Regions from separate parts of the Homo sapiens genome. Here region 1 is linked to region 2. Evidence: promoter capture Hi-C in 16 types of primary human blood cells and fetal thymus (Javierre and others, 2016). All regions are on one chromosome and are shown on one strand. Each heading gives the region's core, a stretch centred on a gene start or on the middle of the fragment in contact. The rest is flanking DNA. Distances are from core to core; before and after follow the strand shown.

What was found. The method cuts DNA at HindIII sites, captures the fragments that hold promoters and counts their contacts. A CHiCAGO score of 5 or more calls a contact.
Region 1: a fragment that was not itself captured here is called in contact with the fragment with the promoter of SOX12 in region 2 in 1 of 17 cell types (fetal thymus); the score reaches 5.7 in fetal thymus.

Annotation. Positions count from the first base shown.
Region 1 is chr20:484,813-490,361 of GRCh38, forward strand. CSNK2A1 (casein kinase 2 alpha 1) reads right to left here. Exons shown (of 14, transcript NM_177559.3): 10 at 4,968-5,069; 11 at 3,866-3,966; 12 at 2,615-2,763; 13 at 1,564-1,650. Among named protein-coding and RNA genes, the nearest start is that of TBC1D20, 25 kb to the left of the region's middle. The HindIII fragment of the contact is 9,998 bases long and covers 1-5,549 here.
Region 2 is chr20:321,498-327,058 of GRCh38, forward strand. It overlaps SOX12 (SRY-box transcription factor 12), which reads left to right and starts at 4,055. Exons shown (of 1, transcript NM_006943.4): 1 at 4,055-5,561. The coding sequence starts at 4,428. The coding sequence ends at 5,375. NRSN2-AS1 (NRSN2 antisense RNA 1) reads right to left here and starts at 3,755. Exons shown (of 3, transcript NR_109990.1): 1 at 3,645-3,755; 2 at 881-1,068. RefSeq lists silencers at 2,925-3,184, 3,745-4,054, 4,165-4,544, 4,615-4,674, 4,695-5,184 and 1 more. The HindIII fragment of the contact is 3,425 bases long and covers 3,558-5,561 here.

The DNA of each region.
Region 1 (5,549 bases), core at 1,913-4,412, 160 kb after region 2:
TGCCAGCACTTTGGGAGGCCAAGTTGGGCGGATCACCTGAGGTCAGGAGTTCAAGACCAGCCTGGCCAACATGGTGAAACCCCATCTCTACTAAAAATACAAAAATTAGCTGGGCGTCATGGCGGGCGCCTGTAGTCCCAGCTACCTGGGAGGTTGAGGTGGGAGAATCGCTTGAACCCGGGAGGCGGAGGCTGCAGCAGCTGAGATTGTGCCACTGCACTCCAGCCTTGGCCACAGAGCAAGACCTTGTCTCCAAAAAAAAAAAAAAAAAAAAAAAAAAAAAAAAAAAAAAAAAAAATATATATATATATATATATATATATATGAGAACATTATTATACATTCTTCTCCACTCCTCTTAGACATGGCTCTGCATCTCACTTTTTCTTTTGAGACAGAGTCTCACTCTCACCCAGGCTGGAGGGCAACGGTGCGATCTCGGCTCACTGCAACCTCTGCCTCCCAAGTTCAAGCGATTATCTTGCCTTAGCCTCCAAGTAGCTGGGATTAAAGGCGCCGCCGCCACGCCCAGCTAATTTTTTGTATTTCCAGTAGAGACAGGGTTTCGCCATGCTGGCCAGGCTGGTCTCGAACTCCTGACCTCAAGTGACCCACCCGCCTCAGCCTCCCAAAGTGCTGGGATTACAGGCATGAGCCACTGCACCTGGCCCTGCATCTTGCGTTTTAAATTTCACATTATTATATTGGAGTTGGAGATCTAACAGAACATGAAACTCTTATTCTACTGGCTGCACCACATTCCATTAAATGGATATACCATAACTGATTTAACCAGTTTCCTACTGATAGCTATTCTCAATGTTTTGTTATTACAAATAAGGCTACAAGTAAGTTTGGATATACATTACTCTGTACAGAGGTAGGATACTCAAGGGGTAAATTCTAGAAGGCAGTTAGTTCTTTTCTTAAAAAAGAGGAGGGCAACAGCAATTATTTGAGGATATGTAAGTAAATGCCTTCACTACCAGATATGCACCCACTTGGATGTTGCCTATATGTATAATTCTTATGCTATGTGCCTGTAGTTCCTTTGGAATAACTGGGTACTCTATAAAAATTCACTGTGCGTCACAATGATCCAATAATGGAAAACCATTTTACTTATGTTTTTACAACTGATAGGCACTCTATAGTTGCTCTGGCACATGTCACGGAACTGTCCTTGTACACATACACACCTATGTATAAACCCCACCTCTATACCCCATTTCTTAACATTGTTTCTAAGGGCCATGTAACTACTGTCATTTCAAACTATAAGATGAAATGGTGTATTTTTCCTTTTCATGGCTTGGCACTTTCAAGCCCCTATGCCAAAAATTTTCAGCCAGGAATGCTGAGATTCTAGCCTAGAAGGGGATACCCTACTCAAGACAGTATCACTAAAGTATACCAAATGTCAAGCATGCTGAAACCTGGTTAAAAAAAAGTCACAAGGCCACCAGTACGGAGAAGAGAAGGTATACAAGAAATCAGACCACAAAGCTAAGAACAGTAATTGACTTCCACATTTTTTTAAAGAAAATTTACCAATGAACTGACCTGACATCATATTGGCGCTGCTGACGGGCGTACTGCCCCCTGGCATGCTAGATGAACCCATTCGAGCCTGGTCCTTCACAACAGTGTCTAGAAAAGAGACAAAAAGGCTAGGTTCTGTTTTGCTTGAAAGATTAAACTAATGGTCTGGAAGCCTGAAAGCAGCCAGCTTCATTCTTTGCAATTTATATATACTCTACATTATTCCCCAAAGAACTTAAGGTGGCAATTGCCTTCACCATGAATTAGACAAGTGGTAAAAAGCAGAAATAGCTTTCCTATCAAACTGTGGTAAAAGCTAACCTTTCAATCAAATGGTAGAAAGATGAGGTAATTATTTATAGCAGAGCGAATTTAATGAAGCCCTGGTCCTGTTGAGGTTTAATGGAGACAAGACACTGTAACTCGGCAAAGACGGTAATATATTACCAGTGTGTCCACAGCCCAGTACCAAGTAGGCCAAAGCTATAGGTCCATGTAGCTTAGGGCTATGACCACATTCTCTATCCCAATCAGCCTATCTATCTGCTTCAGGTATTGGGCAAAAGTATAAATGATTCAGTACAAAACCATCACACCGAAGGAAAAATGTCATGTTGCAGCTAACATCACAGTGCAGATGGGGTGGGTCTCAGTGGTATTTTCACTTAGGATGGCACAGGTGGCTATACTCACAAATCTAAGTCAAGGTGTTCATACAATTTTAAGATTTGTAAGCCTCATTAGCTCTTTCCAACGAATGATTACTAGGGACAGGAAAGATACAGGGCTGTGTATTCTAATTCAACCATTCCAGACTGAGGCACTGAGAAGTGTCATCCTCACAGTATGAAAAGAGTTTATTTAGGAATGCTCTTGTGTCATGTATTCTGTTACAGAAGAATTCTTCCAGTAATTCTGCAATGTAGTTGCCATCACTATCCCCACTGGAAGAATCTGAGGCTCAGTGTGGGTGAATTAACTTTGCAGCAAGCTGACAGGAGCTGGGATTACGACTCTGTTCTATAGGACTCTGCGCCTGCACAAACTCTGTGGGCTAGATATCTGGACTCACAGAAATAGGGGTGCTCCATTGCCTCTCTTGCAGTAAGCCGTGACTGGTGGTCATATCGCAGCAGTTTGTCCAGGAAATCCAAGGCCTCAGGGCTGACAAGGTGCTGATTTTCACTGTGGACAAAGCGTTCCCATCGCTTTCGAGAGTGTCTGCAGGACCAAAAGAGGGCATGAGAAATGGGCCACGTGGGCACAGAAGCCCAACATTTCATTCCTACATTTTTCTTAGTGGCTAACAGCCCAGACAAAAGCAAAGAGGGATCCAAACTCAAGAGGGTAGTCTTGCACCGCTCTGCCACTGAGTGGGACAACAAAGCTAACTGGAGACTGGAAACAACATAGCTAGAGTGAAAAAAGACATCTGAGTCCTCTCAATTTTAAGAAACATAATTCAGGTTACTTGACAGGACGTGACCGCTTCTGTGTAGCAAGGAGGGTCAGGTGGCTGAGCTCACCAGGCCTATTTCCCATCCCCACACATATTCCTGGCATCTCTGCCAATTGGCCAGCAAAAGCCTTTGCATCAGGAAAGTCCATCTCCTCCTGTTGAGTGGTTAAGTGTATAAGTACTATATCTAGTCACTACTGTTAAGAGTCGGTTGTCTGCATATAGCCTTTTTTTTTTTTTTTTTGGAGACAGGGTCTCACTCTGTTGCCCAGACTGGAGCGCAGCCACATGTTCATTGCTCTCTGTAGCATTCCCTCCTGGGCTCAAGGGAAGCTCCTGCCTCAGCTTCCTAGTAGTCTGGACTACTGCCACACATCACCATGCATGGAGTCGAGGGTCTCATTATGTTGTCCAGGCTGGTCTCCAACTCCTGGGCTCAAGTGATCCTCCTAAAGTTCTGGGATTACAGATATGAGCCACCGTGCCCAGCCTGCACATCAGTCTTAAAGCATGCATTTTCTACTTCAATTTCTTTCTCTTGGAGAGAGGTTTTTCACTTAAAGAAGCAAGGTAAATTTTGATTTTTGCCTCAACTGTAACCCTTCTACTAGAATCTACATTCATTTTGTAGGAATCCTCTAGCTATAACCCCTCCATCAGACTCCTGTAAGTTAATTTGAATAAAGGGCCATTCAATCCAATGCCTTTATCAGAGGCCTGCTCAATGCAGCATCCTGTGGCACTGGACCACTGACATCCTGACAGTGCTGGCAAAGAAAACATAACTATTTTGAAGATCCTAAGTGCCAGTTCACTCTCAAAGTGCTTAAGCCACAGATGCACATATTTTGTTTCATGACTTACCTGCCCAAGATATCATTGAAACGTGGATCTAATTCAATGTTGTATTTGTCAATATAGTCATATAAATCTTCTGTCCCCAGAACCTTGGCTATCCTCACCAACTAGTATTAAAGAAAGACAAAAACCCATATCACAAGCATATTATATTAACAAATCAACAATTAACAATGATTGAATTTACATAAACGGGTCATCATGTCTACAGGTATGAATGCTACCTCCTAACAGTTTAGACTTCAACTCAATGTGATAGTGTTAGAAAAAGCAAACTACTTTATAAACTGGTTTCTTCCTCTTGAAATGTCACCCTGGTGAACCCTTATTTTTCTCCCCTCAAAACCCAATTGAAGATGTCACTTCTTTTGGGAAGCTCCCATTGCACACTCAAACTACTCACCACTACTGCCTTTTGTGCCTTGTCCACATTTCTACTCTGAAGTTATGACTGTAACCTATTTTGTTGTATGTTTGACTCCCTTACAAGATCAGCTATGAACTATCTGAGGGGAAGAAAACTATTCTTTCTTTTTTCTGTATTCCTCAGTACTGCATGCACTTGATACAGAGTTATTGACTTTAATGGAATTCAGGTTGTATTCTTTGACTCATTAAAATTGGACATGGTGCTCAAAGGGAACAAGACAATGGTACCTTCCACAAGGTCCTAGAATCATTCCAGGTTCTTGTGAATGAAAGAGCCCTTTGATCTTCAAGGGGGAAGTGGAGTTAGTTTAAGAAACATCTGTAACTCAACCCATATAAAGAGCCAAAAGGATCACAGAAATACCACATATGGGCTCACATATTGGAGAAAACACCATATTGGAGATAAGGGTTTATTAGGAGAATTCTAAGGTAATGTCCTATTTTAAAAATCTGGATGACAATTTATATGTATTCTTCACAATAAAATAAGCAATGCAAATGACAAAGACTAGGGGGGAATGTCTGATTTCAAAAGGCTAAGCTGGTAGCTCCCGAAACATCAATCTAAGGATCAATATCGGGGTGGCTGAATAAACAGTGAACTGAAAGTTACAGGCAGTGCTGGCTATCATTGCATTAGGCCAGTACATTTTTCAATGGGTATAACATATATTACCTGATCATAATTGTCATGTCCATGGAAAAATGGCTCCTTCCGAAAGATCATACTTGCCAGCATACAACCCAAACTCCACATATCCAAACTATAATCGTACATCTGCATAAAAGTAAACTCACTGTTATTATCTGTGAATCCTCAGGCTTGTCACTTCAAAATAAAAAATTAATTTTTAAAATTAAAAAAAAATCACTCCACTGACTCAAAATCAAAACACTAATAACATCTTCATATATTTCTTTTTAGTCTTTCTTTTTTTTTTTTTTGGAGACAGAGTCTCACTCTGCTGCCCATGCTGGAGTGCAGTGGCGCAATCTTGGCTCACCACAACCTCCGCCTCCCGGGTTCAAGCAATTCTCCTGCCTCAGCCTCCTGACTAGCTGGGACTACAGGCGCGTGCCACCATGCCTGGCTAATTTTGTATTTTTAGTAGAGACGGGGTTTCACTACGTTGGCCAGTGGTCTCAAACTCCTGACCTCATGATCTGCTCGCCTCAGGTTCCCAAAGTGCTAGGATTACAGGCATGACCCACCGTGCCTGGCTAGTTTTTTCTTTTTTTTTTTTTTTTAGTTTTTTTT
Region 2 (5,561 bases), core at 2,805-5,304:
CTTCAGCTCCAGCTCAACATAAACGCATCGTATTCCTCATGTACACTCCCCCATCTCTGGTCTTGGCACCTATCCATGCCCTCTCAATACCTCGTCCCAGTCTCCTTCCCATCTCCAGTCCCTTGCACTTGCTGTTTCCTCTGCCTGGAATGTTTTACATGGATGGTTCTTCGTCATCTTGAGATCTAAACTCTCCCCCATCTCTATCATCCCCCGTCCCAGTCACTCACTCTCTCATTACCTTGTTTTCTTTTCATTGTCGTTTGAGACAGGGTCTCACTCTGTCCCACAGGCTGGGGTGCAGTGGTACGATCACAGCTCACTGCAGCCTCAACTTCCCGGGCTCAAACGATCTTCCTGCCTCAGCCTCCCAAGTAGCTAGGACTAAAGGCACAGGCCATCACACCTGGCTGTTTTGTATTTTTTGTAGAGACAGGCTTTTGCCATGTTGCCTAGGCTGGTCTTGAACTTCTAGGCTCAAGCATCTGCCCACCTCAGCCTCTCAAAGCGCTGGGATTTCAGATGTGAGCCACCTTGCCCAGCCCCTCCCTCCCTTCTTTCCATCACCCAGTCTGGGGTGCAGTGGCACCATCATAGCTCACTACAGCCTCAAAATCTCTGGCTTAAGCGTTTTCCCACCTCAGCCTCCCCAGAAGCTGAGATGACAGGTGCTTGCTACCATGCCCGGCTAATTTTTGAATTTTTGTGGAGGTGGGATTTCTCTATGTTACCCAGGCTGGTCTGAAACTCCTGGGCTCAAGCGATTCTCCCGCCTTGGCATCCCAAAGTGCAGGGATTACAGGCGTGAACCACCACACCCAGCCCAGCTTTATTTTCTTTATAGCAGTCACAACTATCTGAAATTATCTTATTTGTTTACCTGCTCTTTTCTGTTGCCCTCACTTGCTCCTTAAGAACAGGGACCTCTGTCTTGGTCACTGCTGTAACCCAGTAGCCCCAGTTCCAAGTTCACTGCCTGGTGCACAGTAGGTGGCCAATAAATTGTTGAATTAAATGTCCTCTCTTCCAGGGAGTTGTTTTAGAAAGAATCACACACTGCATAAATGTCTGTTGAGGAAGAAAATGAAAAAAACAAAAGTGAAGACATTATCTTCTCGGCTGAACTTCCCACACCATCTTCTCTGTCATTAATAAGTCCTGGTGTCTACACTGGGGAAGGCAGTCCAAGGTTCTTCCAGGGCCTAGGTTCAGCCAGACTTTAACCATCTCTAGCTCCTCAGAGTCCGTCAAAGGGCCTAAGGAATGGTAAGTATTAATAATGTTTGTTTATGTATTTATTTATTTATTTATTTTGAGATAAAGTCTCTGTCTCCCAGGCCGGAGTGCAGAGGTACAATCATTACAACTTCCACCTTTCCGGCTCAAGCAATCCTCCTGCCTCAGCCTGCCAAGTAGCTAGGACTACAGGCAGGCACCACCCTGCCCAGCTAATTTTTGTACTTTTTTTTGTAGAGTAAGGGTTTCACCATGTTGCCCAGGCTGGTCTTGAACTCCTGGCCTTAAGTGATCTGCCTGCCTCAGCCTCCCAAAGTGCTAAGACTACAGCTGTGAACCACTGTGCAGGGTCAAATGTTTATTAATGGATGCATGCATGGATGGAAGAAGGAAAGGAGGCAGGTGTGAATAATGAATGCAGCATTTTCACTGCTGAGAATAAAGAGTGAAATCCTGGTCCAAATCAGTTTGGCAGTGAGTAAGGTTAGGAACTATTCACATACATTGGAATAATAATAGCAGCAGCAGCTACAGGGTCAGAGACAGATCTTTGAGAGGCCATAAGCATTGAAAAGATTGTGGTACCTATCACACACCGTCTAAAATAAAACAAATATTTTATTTATGGGAAAAGTGTTAAGGTGTTGATAATTCCAAGAAAGCTTTTATTTGTCCTACAATCATTACTTTGATACCTTTTCTGAAATCCTAGAGCTGTCCCCACTCTGCCCATTTTTTTTTCTCATTATGGTGATGTCTCTGGGTTGCTGGTGACCTGCGTAACTATTGGGAAATCTAGTTTCTCAAAACTTTTAGTTTTTTTTTAGACAGGGTCTCACTCTGTCACTCAGGCTGGAGTGCAGCGGCTCACTGCAACATCCGCCTCCTAGGTTCAAGCGATTCTCATACCTCAGTCTCCTGAGTAGCTGGGATTACAGGTACGCGTCACCAAGCCTGACTCATTATTTTGTACTTTTAGTAGAGACAAGGTTTCACCATATCGGCCAGGCGGATCTCGAACTTCTGACCTCAAATGATCCGCCCGCCTTGGCTTCCCAAAGTGCTGGGATTACAGGTGTGAGCCACCGCGTCCCGTCTATCATAAGTTTTATTGAACATTGCCTAGGTATCAGGATGTGTTTACATGCATTATCTCATTTAATCTGTAAAACCACCATGTGAGGGAGAAACTGAATTATCCCCATTTTCAGGATAAGGAAAAGGAGGGACTGGGAATGTGAACTCAGGAAGTGTGACTCCATCGGGTAGACTGCTCAGGCTGCAGATGTAAAGGTTTTACACGTAGGCTTTTCCAGATCTCAGCTTCTGAAAGGCGGAGGGACCGTTTGGACGGGAGCAGGGCCTCCTCTTCCAAGCACCCTGTGCCTTTAAGAGTCGCCCCCTCCCTCCAGGGATGCTCCAATTTCTTTCTCCCCACCACCCCCACCCCGCCCCCCGCGCCGCGGAGCCGCACCTCGGTCCTTCCTCCCCGCCCCACACCCTCAAGCTCGGCTCTTGGCCTTCGCTCGTCCAGAAGTGGGTGAGCTGTACCGCCAGAGGCGCATTCTCCTAGCCCCAAACCATGCCCGCTACGCCCCAGCGGAATGCCACCTTAAAGACCCTAATCCGGGCACCTCCCAGCTCCTGCTTCCCAAGGGCGAGGCCTCAGCGCCCCCTCCCATCGCCCATGCTCACGACGCCGTGAAGGTGACCTCCCCCAGGGGCGGCACACGCCCAGTGGTGCCCGAACTGGCTCACACGTGGTGAGCCGGGAGCGCGCGGCCCCTCCCCGCCACGCGCCTCGTGCCGGCCACCCGGCCACGCCCCCAGGACTGGCTCCGCCCCGTGCCCCTGCACGCTTCTCCAGGCTTGGGTGGGGCGACGCGCCCAAGTCGGGCACCGGGCAGGCTACGGGGTGGGGTAGGACCTGGGAATGGCGCACCCACGCATCCTCGAATGTCGCCTGCGGTTTGTGAAAAGCGGGAAGTCCGCCCAGCTCAGGACCTTTGGCTGGCAGGCGAGGTGCCCCGCGGCCCTTGGTGCTGAGCAGGGGAGAGACAGCTGGGACCGCGAGCCTGGGAATCGAATCCTAGTCTGCGTGTCCTCGGTGCTTCCTATTTGGAAACTGGGCATCATATTATCATATTCCCTTCTCCCTCCGGATTCTTATGGAGCTTCGAACGAGATTAAATATACATATATATGAGAAAGGGATTTGTTCACTAGGTCCAAAAGCATTTGCTGGTCCCATATGTGGTCGGACCCTGTGTGTAGTAGGCGGGGGGCAACATCTACGACAACCTGAGTTCGTCCCCTTAAGAAGCTTTCCTGAGTCTTGGGCCCCCCAAATTCTCTTCTGGGATGGTCCGAAAAGACGTCCCTGAAAGAGGAAAGGGCGGAAATCCTACCTGACGGCAGGTGTCTCGGAATGAGCTAAAATTTAAAAGGCAACGCGGGGCAGGGACAAGCGTCCAGCGTCAGATGGAAGCAGGCTCGCGTCCCCTACCCTTCCTCCAACCCCTAACCTAAGAAAAGAAACCGATCTCGCCGGTCTCCCCCAATCCTAGCCGCGAGACCGCCCAGCCCCGCAGCCCGAGCCCCGCCCCGCTCCGGCGGCCAGCGATTGGGAGATGCAAATACCGGCTTCTCTGCCCAGCAACGGGTGACGCGGCGCCCGAGCGCGAGGCGGGGCCCGGCCGCAGCCCAAGCGGGCACCTCGGTGTTTACACGGGGCGGCCCCGCGCGCGCCGCAGCGGCCCGCAGACGGCGAGGGGGAGGGGTGGTGCGCGCGCCGGCGGGGCCGCGCGGGGAGAAAGACACTGAAAGGCGTCGGCGGCCGGGCGGGGAGCGGCGCGCGCGGGCCGCGGCGGAGCCAGAGGCTGCAGGAAGAGCCCGCGGGGGCCCGGAGGGTGCGATTCCTCGGCCCCCGCAAAACAATGTGTGTTGTGAGCCAGGACGCAACTTGCCGGAGGCGGCGGGGGCGCGCCGAGCCCGCCTGAGACCGCGCTGACCTTCTCCCCCCGCCGTCCGTTGGGCCCGAGCGCCCAGCTCCTCGCTCCCCAGTTCGCGGGGGCCGGGCCGAGCCGCGGGGCGGGGCCGCCCCTCCGTCGCCGCTGCCTCCTCCCCCACCCCCAGCCGCGGAGGATGCGGACGGCCCCCGGCGGCGTCTAGCGGCCCCGGGCCCAGGCGCGATGGTGCAGCAGCGGGGCGCGAGGGCCAAGCGGGACGGCGGGCCGCCGCCCCCGGGACCCGGGCCGGCCGAGGAGGGGGCGCGCGAGCCCGGCTGGTGCAAGACCCCGAGCGGCCACATCAAGAGGCCGATGAACGCATTCATGGTGTGGTCGCAGCACGAACGGCGGAAGATCATGGACCAGTGGCCCGACATGCACAACGCCGAGATCTCCAAGCGCCTGGGCCGCCGCTGGCAGCTGCTGCAGGACTCGGAGAAGATCCCGTTCGTGCGGGAGGCGGAGCGGCTGCGGCTCAAGCACATGGCGGATTACCCGGACTACAAGTACCGGCCGCGCAAAAAGAGCAAGGGGGCGCCCGCCAAGGCGCGGCCCCGCCCCCCCGGTGGTAGCGGTGGCGGCAGCCGGCTCAAGCCCGGGCCGCAGCTGCCTGGCCGCGGGGGCCGCCGAGCAGCGGGAGGGCCTTTGGGGGGCGGGGCGGCGGCGCCCGAGGACGACGATGAAGACGACGACGAGGAGCTGCTGGAAGTGCGCCTGGTCGAGACCCCGGGGCGGGAGCTGTGGAGGATGGTCCCGGCGGGACGGGCCGCTCGGGGACAAGCGGAGCGCGCCCAAGGGCCGTCGGGCGAGGGGGCGGCCGCCGCCGCCGCCGCCTCCCCGACACCGTCGGAGGACGAGGAGCCGGAGGAAGAGGAGGAGGAGGCGGCAGCGGCTGAGGAAGGTGAAGAGGAGACGGTGGCGTCGGGGGAGGAGTCGCTGGGCTTTCTGTCCAGGCTGCCCCCTGGCCCGGCCGGCCTGGACTGCAGCGCCCTGGATCGCGACCCGGACCTGCAGCCTCCCTCGGGCACGTCGCACTTCGAGTTCCCGGACTACTGCACCCCCGAGGTTACCGAGATGATCGCGGGGGACTGGCGCCCGTCTAGCATCGCAGACCTGGTTTTCACCTACTGAGCCCACCGTCAGCGGGGCGCGCACGCCCCCAAACCAGCTGTTTACATACAGGAATCAGGTATTGGGGCCCCTCGGAGGCCGAGGCTGGCACCCCATCTCCCGCGCAGCCTGCCCCCTCCTGGACGTGCCCATCCCCCCTCAGATCCAGACATGCCCCTCCCCCGCAGACACACCCCAAGGCAGCCC